2 separate regions of the Homo sapiens genome follow, and region 1 is linked to region 2. The links are contacts of gene promoters, found by promoter capture Hi-C in blood cells and fetal thymus (Javierre and others, 2016). All regions are on one chromosome and are shown on one strand. The core of a region is centred on a gene start or on the middle of the fragment in contact, and the rest is flanking DNA. Distances in the headings are between cores, read along the strand shown. Region 1 overlaps OS9 (OS9 endoplasmic reticulum lectin). Region 2 holds the start of CYP27B1 (cytochrome P450 family 27 subfamily B member 1).

The links. The method cuts DNA at HindIII sites, captures the fragments that hold promoters and counts their contacts. A CHiCAGO score of 5 or more calls a contact.
Region 1: a fragment that was not itself captured here is called in contact with the fragment with the promoter of CYP27B1 in region 2 in 1 of 17 cell types (naive B cells); the score reaches 5.0 in naive B cells.

Annotation. Positions count from the first base shown.
Region 1 is chr12:57,701,536-57,706,115 of GRCh38, forward strand. The region is part of intron 5 of OS9 (OS9 endoplasmic reticulum lectin); the gene reads left to right. Among named protein-coding and RNA genes, the nearest start is that of OS9, 9.7 kb to the left of the region's middle. The HindIII fragment of the contact is 562 bases long and covers 1,805-2,366 here.
Region 2 is chr12:57,765,725-57,770,552 of GRCh38, forward strand. CYP27B1 (cytochrome P450 family 27 subfamily B member 1) reads right to left here and starts at 1,354. Exons shown (of 9, transcript NM_000785.4): 1 at 1,123-1,354; 2 at 283-473. The coding sequence starts at 1,317. METTL1 (methyltransferase 1, tRNA methylguanosine) reads right to left here. Exons shown (of 6, transcript NM_005371.6): 3 at 4,048-4,232; 4 at 3,841-3,954; 5 at 3,579-3,680; 6 at 2,747-3,427. The coding sequence ends at 3,272. The HindIII fragment of the contact is 11,205 bases long and covers 1-2,237 here.

The sequences.
Region 1 (4,580 bases), core at 836-3,335, 63 kb before region 2:
AAAGTGCTGGGATTACAGGTGTGAGCCACCGTGCCTGGCCTGGTTGAGTGATTTTAATGTCTGTATTGTGTTTCATTGCTTACTTACCCATTCCTCTGTTGATAAACAGTTGGGTTTCAACTCTAATGCCCTTATACACAGTGCTGCAATGTAGGTCTTATTGTGAGTGTACAAGAATTTCTCCAGGGAAATACCTAGAAAGTAGAATCACTGGGTTACAGGAGTGTATGTTATTGGTGAATTCAATTTTTTGTTTGTTTTGTTTTGTTTTGTTTTTTGAGATAGAGTTTCACTCTTGTTGCCCAGGCTGGAGTGCAATGGCGTGATCTTGGCTCACTGCAACCTCCGCCTCCCAGGATCAAGCGATTGTCCTGCCTCAGCCTCCTGAGTAGCTGGGACTACAGGCGCCTGCCACCATGCCCAGCTAATTTTTGTATTTTTAGTGGAGACGGGGTTTCACCATGTTGGCCAGGCTGGTCTTGAACTCCTTACATTGTGATCCGTCCACCTTGGCCTCCCAAAGTGCTGGGATTACAGGTGTGAGCCACCATGCCTGGCCCTCAATTTTTTTAATGATTGAAAAAATATATAACCTAAAAGTTATCATTCTAACAGTCTTTAAGTGTACAATTCAGTGGAAACATTCAGTGTTCTATCACCATCACTACTATTTCCAAAACTTTTTTCATCATCCCAAACAAAAATAACTCCTATTTCTCCCTCTCCCAGACTCTGTTCTACTTTCTGTCTGTATGAGTTTCCTGTTCTAGGTACTTCACATGAGTGAAATCATACAAGATTTGTCCTTTTGTGTCTGGCTTATTTCACTTAGCATGGTGTTTTCAAGGTTCATCCATGTTGTAGCATATATCAGAATTTTATTTCTTTTTATGGCTTAATCATGTTCCATTGTCTGTATATACATTTTGTTTACCTATTTATCAATGGATGGACAAATAGGTTTTCATCTTTTGGTTACTGTGAATAATGCTGCGATGAACATTGGTGTACAAGTATCTGTTTGAGTCCTGTTTTCAATTCTTTTGGGTCTGTACCTAGGAGTAGAATGTGCCTTATGGTAATTCTAGGTTTAGTTTTTTGAGGAACTGCCAAACTGTTTTCCATAGCAGTTGCATCATTTTACATTCCTAGTAGCAGTGCACAGGGTTCCAGTTTCTCCACACTACCTCCATCACTTATTTTCCTTTGTTTTCTTTTTCTTTTTTTTCAGTAATAGCCATCTTAATGGGTGTGAAGTAGTATCTCATAGTGGTTTTTGATTTGCATTTACCTAGTGATTAATGATGTTGAACATCTTTTCATATGCTTGGTGACCATTTGTATATCTTTTTTGGAGAAATGTCTATTCAAATCCTCTGCCCATTTTTGAATTGAGTTGGTTTTTGTTGGTGAGTTGTGAGAGTTCTTTATGTAATAAATTCTGAATATTAATCCCTTATCAGATCTATGATTTGTAAGTATTTTCTCCCATCCTGTGGTTGCCTTTTTACTATCTTTTGTTTTGCTTTGTTTTTTGGAGACAGAGTTTCACTCTTGTTGCCCAGGCTGGAGTGTAATGGCGCGATCTCAGCTCACTGCAACCTCCGCCTCCCAGGTTCAAGCGATTCTCCTGCATCAGCAGTGTCCTTTGGTGCACAAAAGCTTTTAATTTTGATTTCCAAGAGTTTTATAGTTTTAGCTCTTAAATTTAGGTCTTTGATTCATTTGAGGTTAATTTTTTTTTCTTAGAGATGGGGGTCTCGTTATGTTGCCCAGGCTAGCCTCAAACTCCTGGGCTCAGGTAAGCTTCCTACTTCAGCTTCTGAGTAGGTGGGATTATAGGGGTGTGCCATTGTGCCCAGCTGCTGATTTTGAGTTAATTTTTGTATGTGGTGTAATTTTTGCATATGGTCCAACTTCATTGTTTTGAATATGGATATCCAGTTTTCCTGGCATCGTTTGTTGAAAAGACTGTCCTTTCCCCATGGAATATTCTTGGTATCCTTACCAAAAATCAGTTGACCATATATGTGAGGGTTTATTTCTGGCCTTTCTATACTATTCCATTGGTAAATATGTCTGTCTTTTTGCCAGTATCACACTGTTTTGATTATAGTAGCTTTGTATTAAGATTTAAGTCAGGAAATGTGAGTCCTCTAACTTTGTTCTTTTTTTAATATTGTTATGGATATTTGGGATCCCTGGACATTCCATGTGAATTTTAAGATTTTTTTTTTTCTATAAAAAACACCATTGGATGCCTTTCATTTCTTTTTCATTCCTAATCACTCTAAAACTTCCAGTATTATGTTGAATAGAAATGAAAAGAATGGCTGTCCTTGTCTTGTTCCTAATCTTAAGGGAGAAGCTTTCAATGTTTCACCATTGAGTATGACGTTAACTGTGGGTTTTTCTTATATGGACTTTATCAATAACTGAAGACATTCCCTCCTATTCCTAGTTGATTGTTTTTTTACATGAAAAGGTTATTGAATTTATCAAGTCCATTTTCTGCATCAGTTGAGATGATCATTTGGGTTTTTTCCCCTTCATTCTATTAATGTATATGACATTGATTTACCTATGTTGAACCATCCTTGCATTCTTGGAGTGAATCCAACATAAATCATGATGTATAATGCTTTTAATATGCTGCTGAATTTGGTTTGCTACCATTTAGTTGAGGAATTTTGCATCTATATGTATAAAAGATATTAGTCGCCGGGAGTGGTGGCTCACACCTGTAATCCCAGCACTTTGGGAGGCCAAGGCAGGTGGATCATCTGAGGTCAGGAGTTCGAGACCAGCCTGGCCAACATGGTGAAGCCTCATCTCTACTGAAAATACAAAAATTAGCTGGGCGTGGTGGCGCACACCTGTAATCCCAGCTACTCGGGAAACCGAGACAGGAGAATCGCTTGAACCTGGGAGACGGAGGTTGCAGCAAACCAAGATTGCACCACTGCTCTCCAACCTGGGTGACAGAGCAAGACTCCATCTCCAAAAAAAAAAAGATATTAGTCTATTGTTTTCTTGTAGTATTTTGTAGTAGTATTGTCTAGCTTTGATATTATGGTAATGCCAGCCTCACAGAATAAGTTAGGAAAGCATTCTTTATAAATTTCAGATTTAATTATTTGTCACCTACATTCTTTCTATCTATACTTTGTCTTCTTGTTTTGTTTATAGTGTCTTAAATGAATTTTAATTTAAAAAATTTAAATTCCAATATAGTCAAACTTATCAGTCTTTTTCTTTATACCTTATACATCTTATGTCTTTTATTTAATCCTTTCCTATTTACTATTCATCTGTTTTTTTCAGGTTTCTAAAAAAGTAGAAAAGTGTGAATAGAGTTTCTCATACTTTGGACTACAATTCAGTAAAAATTTATCTTAATGTATGTTATAAGGTTAGGACCTAGATACACCTATTTTCCACAGTTGCCCCAGCACTGTTTATTGAATAGTCCATACATTCCTCTCTGATTTGTAATGCCTCCTCAGTTATTTACCAAGTTCTCAAATATATGTGCATTTTCTTCTTGGCTTCTCTTTTGTTCCAATAGTCTATCTATTCCTATGTCATTACCACGTTGTTTTAATTACTATAGCTTTTTCATAAATCTTGGTATCTGGTAGGATATACTCCCCTTTTTTCTTCAAAACTGTTGGGGCTATCATTGGCCAAGTTCTGTTAAAACTCCTTTTGGGGATTTTGGCTGGAATTTAATTTTAGACTGATTTGAAGAGAATTGATACTTTATAATATGAAGTCTTCATACACTATGAACGTGTTTGTTTCCATTTACTTGTTGTCCTATATTTTAGTAAAGCTTTAATTTTCTCTAAAAGTTCTTCTACATCTTATGTGAGATTAGTCTAGATACCTTATAGTTTTTATTTTTGTCTTGTTTGTGTATGCATATATTTCAAACATACAGGACCTTATAGTTTTAGATGCTATTTTAAGTAGCATCTTTTACAAATTTCATTTTCTTTATTATTATTATTTTTTGAGATGGGGTCTTGCTCTGTCATCAAGGCTGGGGTGCGATCTTGGCTCACTGCAGCCTCTGCCTCCCAGGTTCAAGTGATTCTCTGCCTCAACCTCCCGAGTAGCTGGGATTACAGGTGCGTACCACCACGCCCAGCTAATTATTGTAATTTTTTTAGAGCGGGGGTTTTGTCATATTGGCCAGGCTAGTCTCAAACTCCTGGCCTCATGTGATCCACCGTCGGCCTACTAAAGTGCTGGGATTACAGGCAATGAGCCACTGTGCCTGGCCAAAAATTCCGTTTTCTGATTGTTGCTGGTACATGGTCACATTATTGGTTTTACATATTGATCTTACACTCAGCAACTCTTTTTTGAACTCTTTCATTTTTAGTAGTTCACAAATTCTTGTGGATTTTCTGTATAGATAATTATGTCATCTGCAAGAGAAACAGTTTTGGTTTCTTCCTTTCTAAGTTGTATACATTTCATTTTTCTTATACCTCGAGTGCAACAGAAGTGGCAATGATGGGCATCCTTGACTTGTTTCTGACTTTAAAGGGGATGCTCCTGAAGTTTCACTG
Region 2 (4,828 bases), core at 104-2,603:
CCTTACATTCATTCCATCCAGATCCTTGTACCCTAGCCCAATTCCTCCGGTTCCCCCAGTTCCCAGGATTCGGGCCTCAAAGGATAAGGAGGTAGGCGGGGAGTGAGGTTGGGGCTCAACCTGAGTGTGGGTGAAGCAGACTGGGATGGGAACCCCAAGATGCCCAATGGTAGAGTGGGACAGCCGACCTCCCACCATGCCCCCAGATTGATAGTTTCGGGACCCGCAGCAGGAGAGGGCCGCTGCAGGGCGTCTGGGCTTCTGGGGGCAGAGAAGACTCACGCAGTGAGCAGTCCGCAAGCCCGCTGGCGGCAGCGGCGGTGCTCCGTCCAGGGCGAGAAGCTGCAGCGCTCGGGCCGGGGTCCCTCCTGTCGCAGCAGCTCCTCGACGAGTGCAGGGGCAGCCACGTACACGGTGCGCACTGTCCCAAAGCTGGCTAGCCACACCGGCCCGAAGTGCGCGGCGCCCTGCACCTGGGGGAGCGGACACAGCGGACACTTGGATACCTGGGCGGGGACTTTCAGCTTGACCTGTGCCCACGCCAAGGGCGTTGACTGGGCTTGGGAATAGGGAGCTTCTGCTCTTTCTCGGGTGCCCAACTAGTGTATGCCTTTGATACTGCAAACTCCTCCTCTCTCATTTCCCATCCCTAGAAAGTTTGAGTGTGATGGGCAAAACCGGAACTTTGTGCAAGGCAGACATTCAGGACCTCTCTGATCATCTCGGTCGAGGAGAAATCTCTAAAAGTTCCATGTCTGGACTGTCCATCTCAGGACGAGTCCTCAGTGAATGAAAAGGAACCCATGTAGCTTTAAGCCGCAAGCAGGCGGAGGGTACTGCCCACTCCGGCCTCCCCCTCCCGCGCACTTGTACTTTATCTGCAGGATCTCCACACCTCAGGACAGCGAGAAGGCGCTTTCGCAGCGCCCTCTGCTAAGAGTCGGGACGGGCTCTGCCCGAGTGTAGCCACACCGCCCCCAGCCTCAACTCGCCTTTTCCTTATTTCATGGGCATCCGTTCTCTCTGGCTGTCCCACATTTGCTCTGCACTAGTCAGTCCTTTCTGACGCTGTCAAAACCAGTTTCCCCAGCACTCTGTCTCGGGAAAGGCGTCCCTTCCTACCTGCAGCTCGTGTAGCCTCGACAGCCCCCCCTTGCAGAAAAGTTCGGCCAGAAAGCTGGGCGTAGAGGGGCCTGGGATGTCTGCCAAGCTCCGGCGTGCTGAGTGGTACTCTCGGTAGCCTAGGGAGGCGCCCAACTCGGGCGCCCAGCGGACGCGATGGAACACTCTGGAGGCGTACTTGAGGGTCTGGGTCATGGTCTGGTTCAGGGTGCTCGCGAAAGAAAGCGCTTCTCCTGAGCATCATATCTCAACCCCTATTTAACCTTTGGGTGAGGTGATGACGCCCCCTCTCCAAGCTCCTCAGCCAATCCCTCCTCCTGAGTGGTCTGTGCTGGGGATTAGCACCCAGGAACAGTAGGCGGGGCTGGGGCTGACTTCACAACTCCCTTGGGTCTCATGTTGCAATGACCCTCATGGGAGGGAGGGCCTAAGATTTTCCTCCTGGGAGAGTGCCTTTGTCTAGGAGCCTCAAAGTCTCATCCTAGGAAAGGCTATAAGGCTTTTTAGTAGGGACTAGGTGACCAAGCTACACTAGTCAGTCTCTGATATTCCCACTTCTACCAGTGAGCCCAGCCCCTTTAGGCCCATCCTCAGGAATTCCCCATCTTTCAGCTCCTCCAGGAAGGGAAGCAGGGGAGGCACAGCTGTAACTGTCCCCACATTCTTGGCTTAGTGGGTTGTATCTTCTCTGCATTATTTTCCTGCACTAGCCACACCTCCCCCTCCTCCTGTACCTAACATATACTGGGCAGATGGCAGGTGGGTTAATGGGCTAAAATGGCTCCTAGAACCTCCATCTTTCTTTCTTGAGGATAAGGGGGTCTCTTGGGTATACAAGCCCCCTCCTTCCAGACATGGGAATTTGGGGCTTGAGAAGCAGAAATGAAACTTTTTGTACATTAGTTAAGTTCAGAGATTGTCTGTGGGGTGTTAGAGGAGCTAAATGGATGTGGATGTTCTAATTCCCCAGCTGACTCGGTCTCCTCTGGGGGGCTTTCTGGTTAGCAGCTCCTTTCTACTTTTAGCCTCAGAATCCTGTGGTGGCTCATGCCTATAATCCCAGCACTTTGGGAGGCTGAGGCAGGAGGATGGCATGAGGCCAGGAGGTTGAGACAAGCTTGAGCAACATAGCAAGACTGTCTCTACAGAAGAAGTTTAAAAATTAGGCTGGGCACGGCAGCTCATGACTGTAATCCCAACACTTTGGGAGGCTAAGGTGGGCAGACTGCTTGAGCTCAGGAGTCTGAGACCAGCCTGGGCAACATAGTGGAACTGTCTCTACAAAAAATACAAAAATTAGCCAGGCATGGTGGCGTATGCCTGTAGTGCCTTGAGAGGCTGAGGTGGATTACATGAGCCCGGGAGGTCAAGGCTGCAGTGAGTTATGATTGTACCACTGCACTCCAGCCTAGGCAACAGAGAGAGGGCCTGTCTCTAAAAAAAATTAAAATAAAAGAATCTCCCACAGTTTACCTCTCTGCTCCTTACTCCCTCATTCCCCACTGCAACTCTATCAGGCTCTGTGCCAGTCAGCTAGCTCTGAAGTTCTGGAATTGAAGGTCAATGTGAAAAAGGAGAGGGTCTCCACCCCCACACCTTCCCAAGGACTCTCCAGAGACAACACTTAGGGAACACAGATTCCCCAGGTCAAGTCTTACGCAGGGAGAGGACAGGAGGATGGTAGAAGGCATATGATACATACTCCACCCTTTCCTGAGAAATGGCAGAATAGGCATGTGTACACATATACATGTTATCCCAGGATCCACAAAGCAAACAGAAGTGGTAATTGAGCCTAGCAAGCAGTTTAGATGGACTACATTCCTCATTCCAGCTGAGGAGAGATCTCACAAGGAGAAAGGAGTGCTAAGGAAGAGCAAGACCCCACAGCCTTCCAAAGATCCCCTATGGTCCAAAGTCCTTTGACCATCTCAGTCAGCTGCTTTGTTTTCTGTTGGCAGTGGAGGGACAAGGTGAGAGGAGCCAGGGGTAGTCATGAACACCAGTGGGTTCTGCCCTGGGCAGCTCCCCACCTTCTTTAAGAGAGTACTGTGTCTCAGCTCCAGCAGTCTCAACTGGGAAGACCCAGGACTCCTGCTCTTTTCTCTAATCCCTGGGAGACGAGGTCCAGCTAAGGTAGAGTAAGCAGTCAGTGACCAGGCAGGCTGGTTTGGGAGGTCACTGCCTGGAGGACGGGATCTTGTATTCTTCGGAAGATGGCTGGGAAATTCTTCCCTCCATTACGTAGAACTTTCTTCCCCTCCTCAGTTGAGGTGCCTAGATGTCCCACAACGGGGTCTTCACTCTGGGAGAAGGAAGGGTCCAATAAGTCCTTGCCCACTGTTCAGACTGCCCCTGGCCCTTAGACACCTATCCCATCCTCCTGGCACTGAGTTAAGTCCAAATACAGAACCACTCTGGAAAGGGCCTCCACCTCCTCTAGGTCCCCTACTCACCAGGTCCTCCAGAGGCACACGCTCAAACAGTGGGTGCTCTTCGAAATGAGTGCACATCCAGTCGTGTAGCTCCAGCACATCGGTTATGGTATACACCAGCCCCTGCATAGGCAAAATCACCCTAGACAGGAGGCTGCATGCAACGTCAGCAGCCAGATGAAGGAAGTGGTGGTGTGAGTCCCTAAATGCACCCCCACTGAATTCTTAGTGAAGGGCCCCTGAGTAGGCCACTCACCCCATCATCCCTCCGATCCCAACTCACCCCAACTCTTAGCACGTAGGCATATTCTGCTAGCAGGGTGGGACTGATGATTCGCCACTTGTGCTTTGTCCGCTTGAAATGTGGGTCGGGGAAGAGGAAGAACATCTTTGTCAGCTGTGAGACAGACACACACCAACAGGGTTGTGAGAGCCTGGCCTCCATGCCCCCACCTGCCTACCAGCCTAACCCACCAGGGCCCCTCCCCACCTGGCCCTTGTAGAAGAAGTTAGGAAGGTGCTTCATGGCATTGCTACGGAGACAGGCGATGTTCTGGAAGCCACCTGCAGGAGCTGCGCGTAGGGCCCGAATCCGGTCTTGTACATAGTCTGAGACCTTCACCCGGATCTCCAGACCCAGAATAAGTGTGTCTGGGAACAGCGGTGACAGTTCCACTGCACACAGAAATAGCAATGGAATCATCAACCATATACTTGTAGGAAGTGCAAAGGGGTCAACACAGGAAAGGAAGCCTCAACCTGCAACTACCAAAGTCCAGAACGGCAAGAGAGGACAGAGATACATATATGGATAGTTTTATGCTCAAGAGGCGGGGGGAGAAATGAAAATTGTCACCAGGACCAGAATGGGAGGGCTGAGGATACATGTATATTTGCCATTGCTTTAGAGTTTTCCACAGTGTTTTCACACATTGTGTTATTTCATCCTTATAACACTCTGTGGTAAATTGTGAAGATAAGGAAACTGAGGGTCAGATATGCCGAAGATCATAGAGTTAAGAAGGGGCAGAACTGGAACTTATTTATTTGAGATGGAGTCTTGCTCTGTCACCCAGGCTGGAGTGCAGTGGCACAATCTTGGCTCACTGCAATCTCTGCCTCCCAGGTTCAAGTAATTCTCCTGCCTCAGCCTCCTGAGTAGCTGGTCTTGAACTCCTGGCCTCAAGTGGTCCACCTGCCTCAGCCTCCCAAAGTGTTGGGATTACAGGTGTGAGCCACTGTGCCCAGGCAGAACTGGACCTTAAACCAAG